Regions from separate parts of the Homo sapiens genome. Here all the other regions are linked to region 1. Evidence: promoter capture Hi-C in 16 types of primary human blood cells and fetal thymus (Javierre and others, 2016). All regions are on one chromosome and are shown on one strand. The core of a region is centred on a gene start or on the middle of the fragment in contact, and the rest is flanking DNA. Distances in the headings are between cores, read along the strand shown. Region 1 holds the start of GPRC5B (G protein-coupled receptor class C group 5 member B). Region 2 overlaps VPS35L (VPS35 endosomal protein sorting factor like). Region 3 overlaps VPS35L (VPS35 endosomal protein sorting factor like).

What was found. Contacts are between HindIII fragments. The CHiCAGO score rates a contact against its expected background, and 5 or more counts as called.
Region 2: a fragment that was not itself captured here is called in contact with the fragment with the promoter of GPRC5B in region 1 in 13 of 17 cell types (endothelial precursors, total CD4 T cells, M2 macrophages and 10 more); the score reaches 14.7 in endothelial precursors.
Region 3: a fragment that was not itself captured here is called in contact with the fragment with the promoter of GPRC5B in region 1 in 10 of 17 cell types (M0 macrophages, M2 macrophages, endothelial precursors and 7 more); the score reaches 15.2 in M0 macrophages.

The regions. Positions count from the first base shown.
Region 1 is chr16:19,883,477-19,886,312 of GRCh38, forward strand. GPRC5B (G protein-coupled receptor class C group 5 member B) reads right to left here and starts at 1,372. Exons shown (of 4, transcript NM_016235.3): 1 at 1,251-1,372. RefSeq lists an enhancer at 1-115 and a silencer at 1,631-1,925. The HindIII fragment of the contact is 5,537 bases long and covers 1-2,836 here.
Region 2 is chr16:19,630,972-19,633,807 of GRCh38, forward strand. VPS35L (VPS35 endosomal protein sorting factor like) reads left to right here. Exons shown (of 31, transcript NM_020314.7): 19 at 2,121-2,201. Among named protein-coding and RNA genes, the nearest start is that of VPS35L, 77 kb to the left of the region's middle. The HindIII fragment of the contact is 2,462 bases long and covers 215-2,676 here.
Region 3 is chr16:19,648,711-19,651,546 of GRCh38, forward strand. It overlaps VPS35L (VPS35 endosomal protein sorting factor like), which reads left to right. Exons shown (of 31, transcript NM_020314.7): 25 at 1,672-1,749. Among named protein-coding and RNA genes, the nearest start is that of KNOP1, 68 kb to the right of the region's middle. The HindIII fragment of the contact is 398 bases long and covers 1,165-1,562 here.

The DNA of each region.
Region 1 (2,836 bases), core at 122-2,621:
TCCGCAAGCCCGAGTCCCCACCGAAGAAACTTCTGAATTAAGAAGGTTCCTTGGCTGAAGTGCCGGGGTTTTTGTGCCAGATCCCTCCCCCACTTCTCTTGTCTTTGCGGGGTCCCCCAGGGCTTTCTGGGCTCTGTTCAGGTGCCCCCCGGCCTGGTGCAGTTGGGCGGCCAATGTGGCGCGTGGGCTGGGGCCCCAGGCGGGGACGCCGCTGCCCGCCACACTCCAGGGGCCTTTGTCCGCGCTCCAAGGAGCCGCCCCCTTAGCGAACGGGGGACGGAAAGGGAGGACTGGCTAGGCCTGGGTGTGACAGAGCAAGGACGGAGGAGTGAACCCGCTGCACGGGGGAGATTTCTGGGGCAAGGTCGTTGGCCCCTTCCCAGGCTGTTCAACCGGCTGCCCGGGGCCAAGGCGGGTGCGGGCTCCTCCCGCGCGCTCCCTTTTCGGCCTAAGCGCTAGGGACCCCGGGATGTGTGGGGTCCTTGTGGGGCTGGAAGCCTGTGTCCCCCAAGGAGAGGGGACCGAGAACAGGTCTAGTCCTTATCTCCAGCCTAGCCGCCTCTTCCAGAGGTCCAAGTGCCCCCTGTCTGGAAGGGAAACGCCACTGCCCCCCCCGCCATTGTATGCAGCCGCCCCCTCCTCCCCACCCCTCCCCGTCATTCGTCCCCAGCCCAGGTCTCAGCTCTGCCATCTCCCACCGCCGTGTCCCCCCCTCCCCTTGCTGAGTAATGCGCACTCAAGCCGGCTGCGGGCTTGACCCCCAGCCCCCGCGACAGGTGCGGCTGTTCACCCCCAAAGTCCAGCCCTTGTGCCCCCGGCTGCGTCTGCCCTGTCCACAGTCAGCCCCCAACGCGGCCCCAGGACCAGCCCGCAGCTCCTCACACATGACGAGTCACTAGGACACGGCTGGGCTCCTTTACCCTCCCAGCTGCCCTTCACCTGTGGTCGCCCCCACACCCTCCTGGGAGACTTGGATCTCTACCTGGTCCGGGCACAGTCTCCCTCCCCCCGTAAAGGTCCCCAGATCCTCCCCTCCCCCGCCCACCCCTCTACGGCTCTGCTCTCGTCGCACCGTGGTTCCCCTCGCCCAGATTCCACATCTCCCCCAGCAATAAACTCCCTGGCTTGGGTTGGGGGGGCGCTTAGAAAAACACAAGAAGCGGACCCCCCAATTCTCCCAAATCCACGGCGGGAAAAGTTTCTGGGGTCCCCACAGCGTCCTCCACTGCATCGGCGCAGCTCGCACTTACCGACCCCCGCGGCCCCGCAGCGCCGACGCTCCAGCTGGCCTTCGGCCCGAGTCACATCTCTGCGGCGCGGCCGCGGCCCCCGCTCCACGCACGCCCGCCTGCGGGTCCAGCTTCACTGCAGCGCCTGCCAGAGTCGCTGCCGCGCGAGGCGCCCCCTGGCCCGGCCCGCGCTGCTGCAGCGGCCGCGGCCCCGCCCCCGCCCCCGCCCCCGGCCGGCCCCGCCCCCGGGCCTCCGAGCCCCACCCCCGGTCCCGCCGGCGGTTCCGCGCGGGGCTAGGCGCCGTCTGCATGCACCCCCGGAGCCCAAGCTCGTAGCTTCTAGCCCGGATCTCAGAGACGATTCCCCCGACCTCGTGCCCCCAATTCGGGGACATTCCCCCCACAACGTCAGTGCGCCCGTAAGCAGTCCAGACGAGCCGGGCAACTCCCCAGGGTAGATCCATTTGCGGGAACACTCCCCTAGCCAATACACTTACCGAGGGAGGTATCGCGACCCAGGGGTCCCAGCGCGGAAGCCTTCCTGCCCCCAGGCCACGCTCCAAGGGGGGTTCATAAGCAGTAACTTCCCCGAAACACACCAGCACCAGGTCCAGGACGCAGAGAGGATCGATCCCGCCCGGTGCCTCTCGAAGTCACCAACGCCCCGGTATACACCTAGGCGCACACACACCGCTAGGCCTCCTCCAGGCAGGTTCCTCCTGGACACACTCTTCTCTCTCCTCACTGCCCAACTCCCAGATGTCGTTGTCCGTTTACGCACACTGGGACCAACACCCGCTTCCTTGGCCCCTCGAAACACACACGTCCAGTCGGTGCACCCCTCACGTGGGTCCCTACGCAGGATCGCCACCACCCCTACCGCACACATCACCCACGTACGCACATGTCCACTGCCCTTCAGGGCTCACACACTCAGCGGCCCGGGCCACTGGCCGTGCGCTCCGCAGACGGTCAGGGCACAGCCCGGACGCGTGTCCGCTGGGCGGCCGTGGGACCTGCTTGAAGGAGGGGTCCGGGGCAGCCGTCTCTGAGTCCCCCTCACCCCGTCCTAGTCCTCAGGCCTCTCCGAGGTCGCATTGCTTCGACCAGGCCTGGGAGCTGCGCTCCGGCACCCCATATGGGGCTGGTTCCCTGGGTGACCTTCAGACCATCAAACCCTGGCAGTCTCAGGTGGCCCCCCGCCAAAGCCAGAAACAGACCTTTGAGCAGCATCCCTTCCCTGCACTCCAGATTCTCAGGGTGAGATTTCCTTTCTCCCTCCGCGGTGCGCCCCCCAATCTCTACCCCCGTCGCCGCAACCATCCCAGCCACATAAGACCAAAAGGGATAGGACGGACCCCTGCTCCCCTCTCCCGGGGGCTGCAGGAAGGGGAGATGCAGAACACCTCCTTCTGGGAATAGTGGCAGCCCCTGATCTTTGGGGACCGTGGCCCTTCCAGATACTCCCATCCCTCCCTGCCAGCCTCCCAGTTCCGGTCCGGTTAGGCCACATCCCCCTTGGGCACGCATCTCTGGGATACCTTTTATTATATTCAAGGGAAAATGGAAAGGAAGAACCATAATGGCAGTTTTTCGCCCCACTCCTG
Region 2 (2,836 bases), core at 196-2,695, 250 kb before region 1:
ACACTCCAGCCAGAGCGACAGAGTGAGACTCTGTCTCAAAACAAAAATAATAATAAAATAAGTCCTGAGTTGCTCACTGTCCCCTTCCATCCCATGAGGACTTGGGGAGAAGATGCCGTTTGTGAGGAATGGGTCCTCACCAGACACCAAATCTGCCTTGATCTTGGACTTCCCAGCCTCCAGAACTGTGAGAATTACATTTTTGTTGTTTACAAGCTTCCTGGTTTATGGTATTTTGGTAGAGAAGCCCAAACAGACTAAGCCAAGCACACATGCAAAAAAGTGCACGTATCATAAGTTTGCTGCTCAATGAATTTTCACAAGGTATGACCATATAATCACCATCCAGAGTAAGAAATAGGAAATAAGTGACCCCGCAGAACCCCCAGAACTGCCTCTCCCTGTCACAACAGCCTTTGAGGAGGTGAAGGTAGACACCATCCTGGCCTCTAACACCAAAATTGATGTTGCCTCGTTTTGAGCATTAGGTAAATGTTGGTCCATTGATTTTTGTGGTTTTTTTTGGTCCTATTTTTATTTTACATTTTATTATGGAAATGTAAAACATATGCACTCCCTTGTACCCATCAATCAGGAATTATCAATTTATGACAGATCTTGTTTGATTTATATCATTACCATGTCCCCTGACCCCTGGAATATTTTGAAGCATATCTCAGACATTGTATCGTTTCATCTGTCAGTATTTCAGCACACCTGTAAAAATATAAAGATTCCATTGATTGATTGATTGACAGACAGGATCTCACTCTGTTGCCCAGACTGGAGTCCAGTGGTGCAATCGTCACTCACTCCAGCCATGACCTCCTGAGCTCAGGCAATGCTCCTGCCTCAGCCTCCCGAGTGGCTGGGACCACAGGCACATGTGGAGATGTAGAGATGGGGTCTTGCCATGTTGCCCAGGTTGCAGGGTTCACTTCCTTAAACCAAATCTAAATACATTATTCTAAGGAAAAAAGTTACTAATTTTTTTTTTCTTCTGTTTTTGAGATGGAGTCTCACTCCGTCACCCAGGCTGGAGTGCAGTGGCATGATCTCAGCTCACTGCAACCTCCGCCTCCTGGGTTCAAGTGATTCTCCTGCCTCAGCCTCCTAAGTAACTAGGACTACAGGTGTGTGTGACCACACCCCGCTAATTTTATGTATTTTTAGTAGAGACGGGGTTTCACCATGTTGGCCAGGCTGGTCTCGAACTCCTGACCTCAAGCAATCCACCTGCCTCAGCCTCCCGAAGTGCTGGGATTACAGGCATGAGCCACTGCACCCAGCCGAGTTACTAATTATTTAATATCATCAGTACCAGTCAATATTCTGATTTCCCCAATTGTCTCATTTTTTTTAAGTTTATTTGTTGAAATCTGGTTGAAAATAAGGCTTCTCCATTGCAATAGACATTTTAGGATACTTTTGATGTATAAGTTCTCTCTCAAACTGTCTCCTTCTCTCCTTCCCCTTTCTTTCCCTGTAATTTATTTGTTGAAGAAATTGGGTCTTTTGCTCTATAGAGTTGCAAAGACTGGATTTTTCCCATTGCATCCTTGTGATGGTGTCTGGCGTGCTCTTCTGCCTTTTGTATTTTCTATAAATCAGCAGTTAATTATAGAGACTTAAAAGCCATTCTTAGCTTGTGGGCCTTATAAAAACAGGCCCTGGGCTGGATTGGGCTGCAGTTGGCTGACTCCTGCTATAGGTGACAAAAGTGAACAGTGAGCAGTTAGGTCAGACAGCTTGTAAGGGTGAGCCTGCAGTCTTCCGCAGTGCTTCACTGTTCTCTCTGCAGGCACCTGAGGGAGGGCCTGGGACAGGCAGGTGGAGAGAGGCACGGCCGATTCAACCATCACTCTGGGAAAGCAGAGACAATGTAAAGCCCCAGAACTTTTGAGAAGAGCGTTTAGTCCTGACTAGGTGTGGGGCTGTGGTACTAGACCGGGTGATATGAGTGAGATTTCCTCCCTTCCGTTATTTTCAGCAGAATACTGAAATTGATTTCCTGGAAGGTGTGTGATATATTCTGAATACGTTAGTCCTTTCCCCCAGGAACATGGTCAGCAGTTGCCATACAGTGTCTAATTCAGGTTTGGTTCCTTTTTCCTGCTTAGAAACGAGAGGTGAATACCGTTTTGGCAGATGTCATCAAGCACATGACTCCAGATCGTGCATTTGAAGATTCCTACCCCCAGGTAACAGATTTGCATTTCTCATTTCAACATTGTTAGGAATTTTGTTCTGTTGAATTAAATAGGCGTGTTGTATGGGTCAGGCTATAAAGGCACATAATCCTGTGTTTGAATCATAGCTCTGCCATATCCTAGCCATGTGCCCTTTGATCAGTTACTTAACCTTGTTGTGCCCCAGTTTTCTCACCTGTGAAATGGAGATAGTAATAGTGCTACCTGAGAGTTACTGTGAGGATGAAGTGAAGCCCTCACACAGTGGCCTGGCACGTGGTAAATGCTCAATAAGCGTTGTCTTCATTGTTGTCACCAGTAAGTAAACTGCGAGTATTTTTAGTTAAATCAACTTTGTTTTTTCCTTTTTTTTTGAAACAGGGTCTCGCTCAGTCACGGAGGCTGGAGTGCAGTGGTGCGATCACCGCTTGGCACAGCCTCGACTTCCTGGGCTTAAGCATAATTTTTTTATGTGGAAATAAATTTAAGCTTATTGGAAAGTTAAAAGAAAGCTCAAAGAATTCCTATTATTCTTTAACCAGATTTACTAGCTGTTAACATTTGTTTTTTTTTGTTTTTGTTTTTGTTTTGTTTTGAGACGGAGTCTTGCTCTGTTGCCCAGGCTGGAGTGCAGTGGTGCGATCTTG
Region 3 (2,836 bases), core at 114-2,613, 230 kb before region 1:
TACCAAAGTTAGTCAGGCGGGGTGGCAGGCACCTGTTGTCCCAGCTACTTGGGAGTCTGAGGCAGAAGAATCGCTTAAATCTGGGAGGTGGAGGTTGCAGTAAGCAGAGATCGCGCCACTGCACTCTACACTCTAGCCTAGGCAACAAAGGGAGACTCCATCTCAAAAAAAAAAAAAAAAAAAAAAGTTAGGTTCAGACAACTTAAGTATTTATGTCTAACAACTTGACAGCCATTTGAAGAAAGTATATATATAAATTGAAAGAAAAATAATACTTTTTTTTCCTTTTCTTTTTGAGCTGGAGTTCTTGCTTTGTTGCCCAGGCTAGAGTGCAATGGTGCGATTTTGGCTCACTGCAACCTCCACCTCCCGGGTTCAAGTGATTCTCTTGCCTCAGCCTCCCGAGTAGCTATAATTACAGGCACCTGCCACCATGCCCGGCTAATTCTTTGTATTTTTTAGTAGAGATGAGGTTTCACCATGTTGGCCAGGCTGGTCTTGAACTCTTAACCTAAGGTGATCCACCTGCCTCGGCGTCCCAAAGTGCTAGGATTACAGGCATAAACATCAAGCCCTGCCAATTTTTTTCTTAACCATAATTAGTAATGATGGGTGTGTACTTATGAAGCATATCACAGCTTCATAAAATTTTGGAGTTAGATTGGTGATGCTATTCTTATTTCTTGTTTTACATTCACTGTTTTTTACATTTATTCTTGCACAGCGATTAAACTTGCTTTTGATCACAGTAGCCACGAAAAACAAGTTTTACAAATATATGATGTGGCTATAAGGGATGTAAAGCAGTCCATCATCAAATCAGCCTTGCACCAGTGCTTTTTACAACGTGCAACAAACAAGTATTGCTGTTTACAATGTGCGACAAACAAATATTCCCTAAAAAACGGTGGCGCCCCTGTGAGTTTGCTGCAGCACCCCAGGGTGCCATGGTGCACCGTTTGGGAACCACAGGTCCAAACTTTTTATATCTGTGGAAGGGTTCCCTAAGGCTCTTTCATTATTTCATGTCTATTCAAGGAGAATAACTTTCATATGTATTTGTTTGCTGGTTAGCAAGTTATTTAGCACAACTAAACTTAAGACCTAAATTTAGAAACTATCTGGAAATCAGGGGAGGTAATAGTATCCACCCTGGGATTATGAAGCTTAAGTGAACCAATGAATGTATAGCTCTTAAATAGTGCTTGGAACACTATTAGTGATGATGTGGCTACTATCATTATTGTTCTTATTGTTGGTACTGTATAGCTGAATGGTGTGGTCTGATTGTCTAAATGGTGTGCTTTGGAGTTGTCTCTTAAGATTTCTAAATTCTTAAACTTTGGTGTGGTAGGATTTCTGGAAATGGAGTAAGTGAGCCCCAGCTATTCATTAAGCCAGAAAATGGTCACTAAAATGCTGATCAAAAGGCATGACTGACGTAGCCAACACTGCCTTTTGTTCTACCCTCTTGGAGATGTTTGCTCAAGCCATGATTGGATCAGGCCTGATGACCCCTTTGGCATTTCAAGGTTTAGTGCTAACCAGTCTTGGTCCTAGAAAGCTTGTTCTCATTGACCTGTATGTAGTTAATGTTGAGATCTCTATGGAAGACACTCATCTGAATCGGCCATCGCTTCATTACCATTTCTATTTTATTAATAAATTCAGAGTGTGAACCGGTTGGCAATGGAGACAAGAAAAGTAATGAAAGGAAATCATTCCAGAAAGACAGCTGCATTTGTCCGGGTATGTTCTTAAGATAAGGACTGTTGGACCTCGAACTCCAGTGGGCTGTTTAGTTTGCAGGTTACTAAATTACATTTCCCAGAAAAAGATGAGTATGTCATGATAAGAATGGTTTAGTATTGATTTTTCAGATTAATTTTTCCCTGTATCTATGGGATGAGCCATTTTCTAATGTTTTCAAGAGAAATGGTTAAATGAGTCTGAATTTTAATACGTGTTGTGGGGAAGGTGAATGAGCGATGGATCTGCATTTTTATGTGCCAGCTGAATTAGCTTTCATTTTCTCTAATATACTAATATAAGACATATTTTATAACATTATAAAATATAAAATAGTTTTCTAATATAAAAATATGTATAATAATATTGTTCTTGTAACTGAAAGGCCTTTTTTCCTCTAGATAATAATGATGCCCAACTTTGTTTTTGTTTTTCTTGAGACGGAGTCTTGCTCTGTCACCCAGGCTGGAGTGCAGTGACGTGATCTCGGCTCACTGCAACCTCCGCCTCCCAAGTTCAAGCGATTCTCCTACCTCAACCTCCTGAGTAGCTGGGATTACAGACGCGTGCCACCATGCCCAGCTAATATTTTTGTATTTTTAGTAGAGATGGGGGTTTCACCATGTTGGCCAGGCTGGTTTCGAACTCCTGTCCTCAAGTGATCTGCCCGCCTCGGCCTCCCAAAGTGCTGGGATTACAGGCGTGAGCCACCACACCTGGCCTGATGTTAAACTTTGAAAAATCATTTTCAGCTTCTTGAAGCTGAAAATTTTATCAGATGTGATGCTGCTCAAAATTTATTTAGCTATTCATTCATTTATTTATTTTTGGAGACAGGGTCTTGCTCTGTCACCCAGGCAGGAGTGCCGTGGCACCATCATAGCTCACTGTAACCACCATATCCGGGTAATTTTTTTGTTTTTTGTAGAGATGGGGCATATCACTAGGTTGCCCAGGCTGGTCTTGAACTCCTGGCCTCAAGTGATCCTCCTGCCTCAGCCTCCCAAAGTGTTGGGATAACAGGTGTGAGCCACCGCACCCAGCCCTGCTCAGAATTTTAAGAAAGAAATATGTGTCTGTGTTTTTA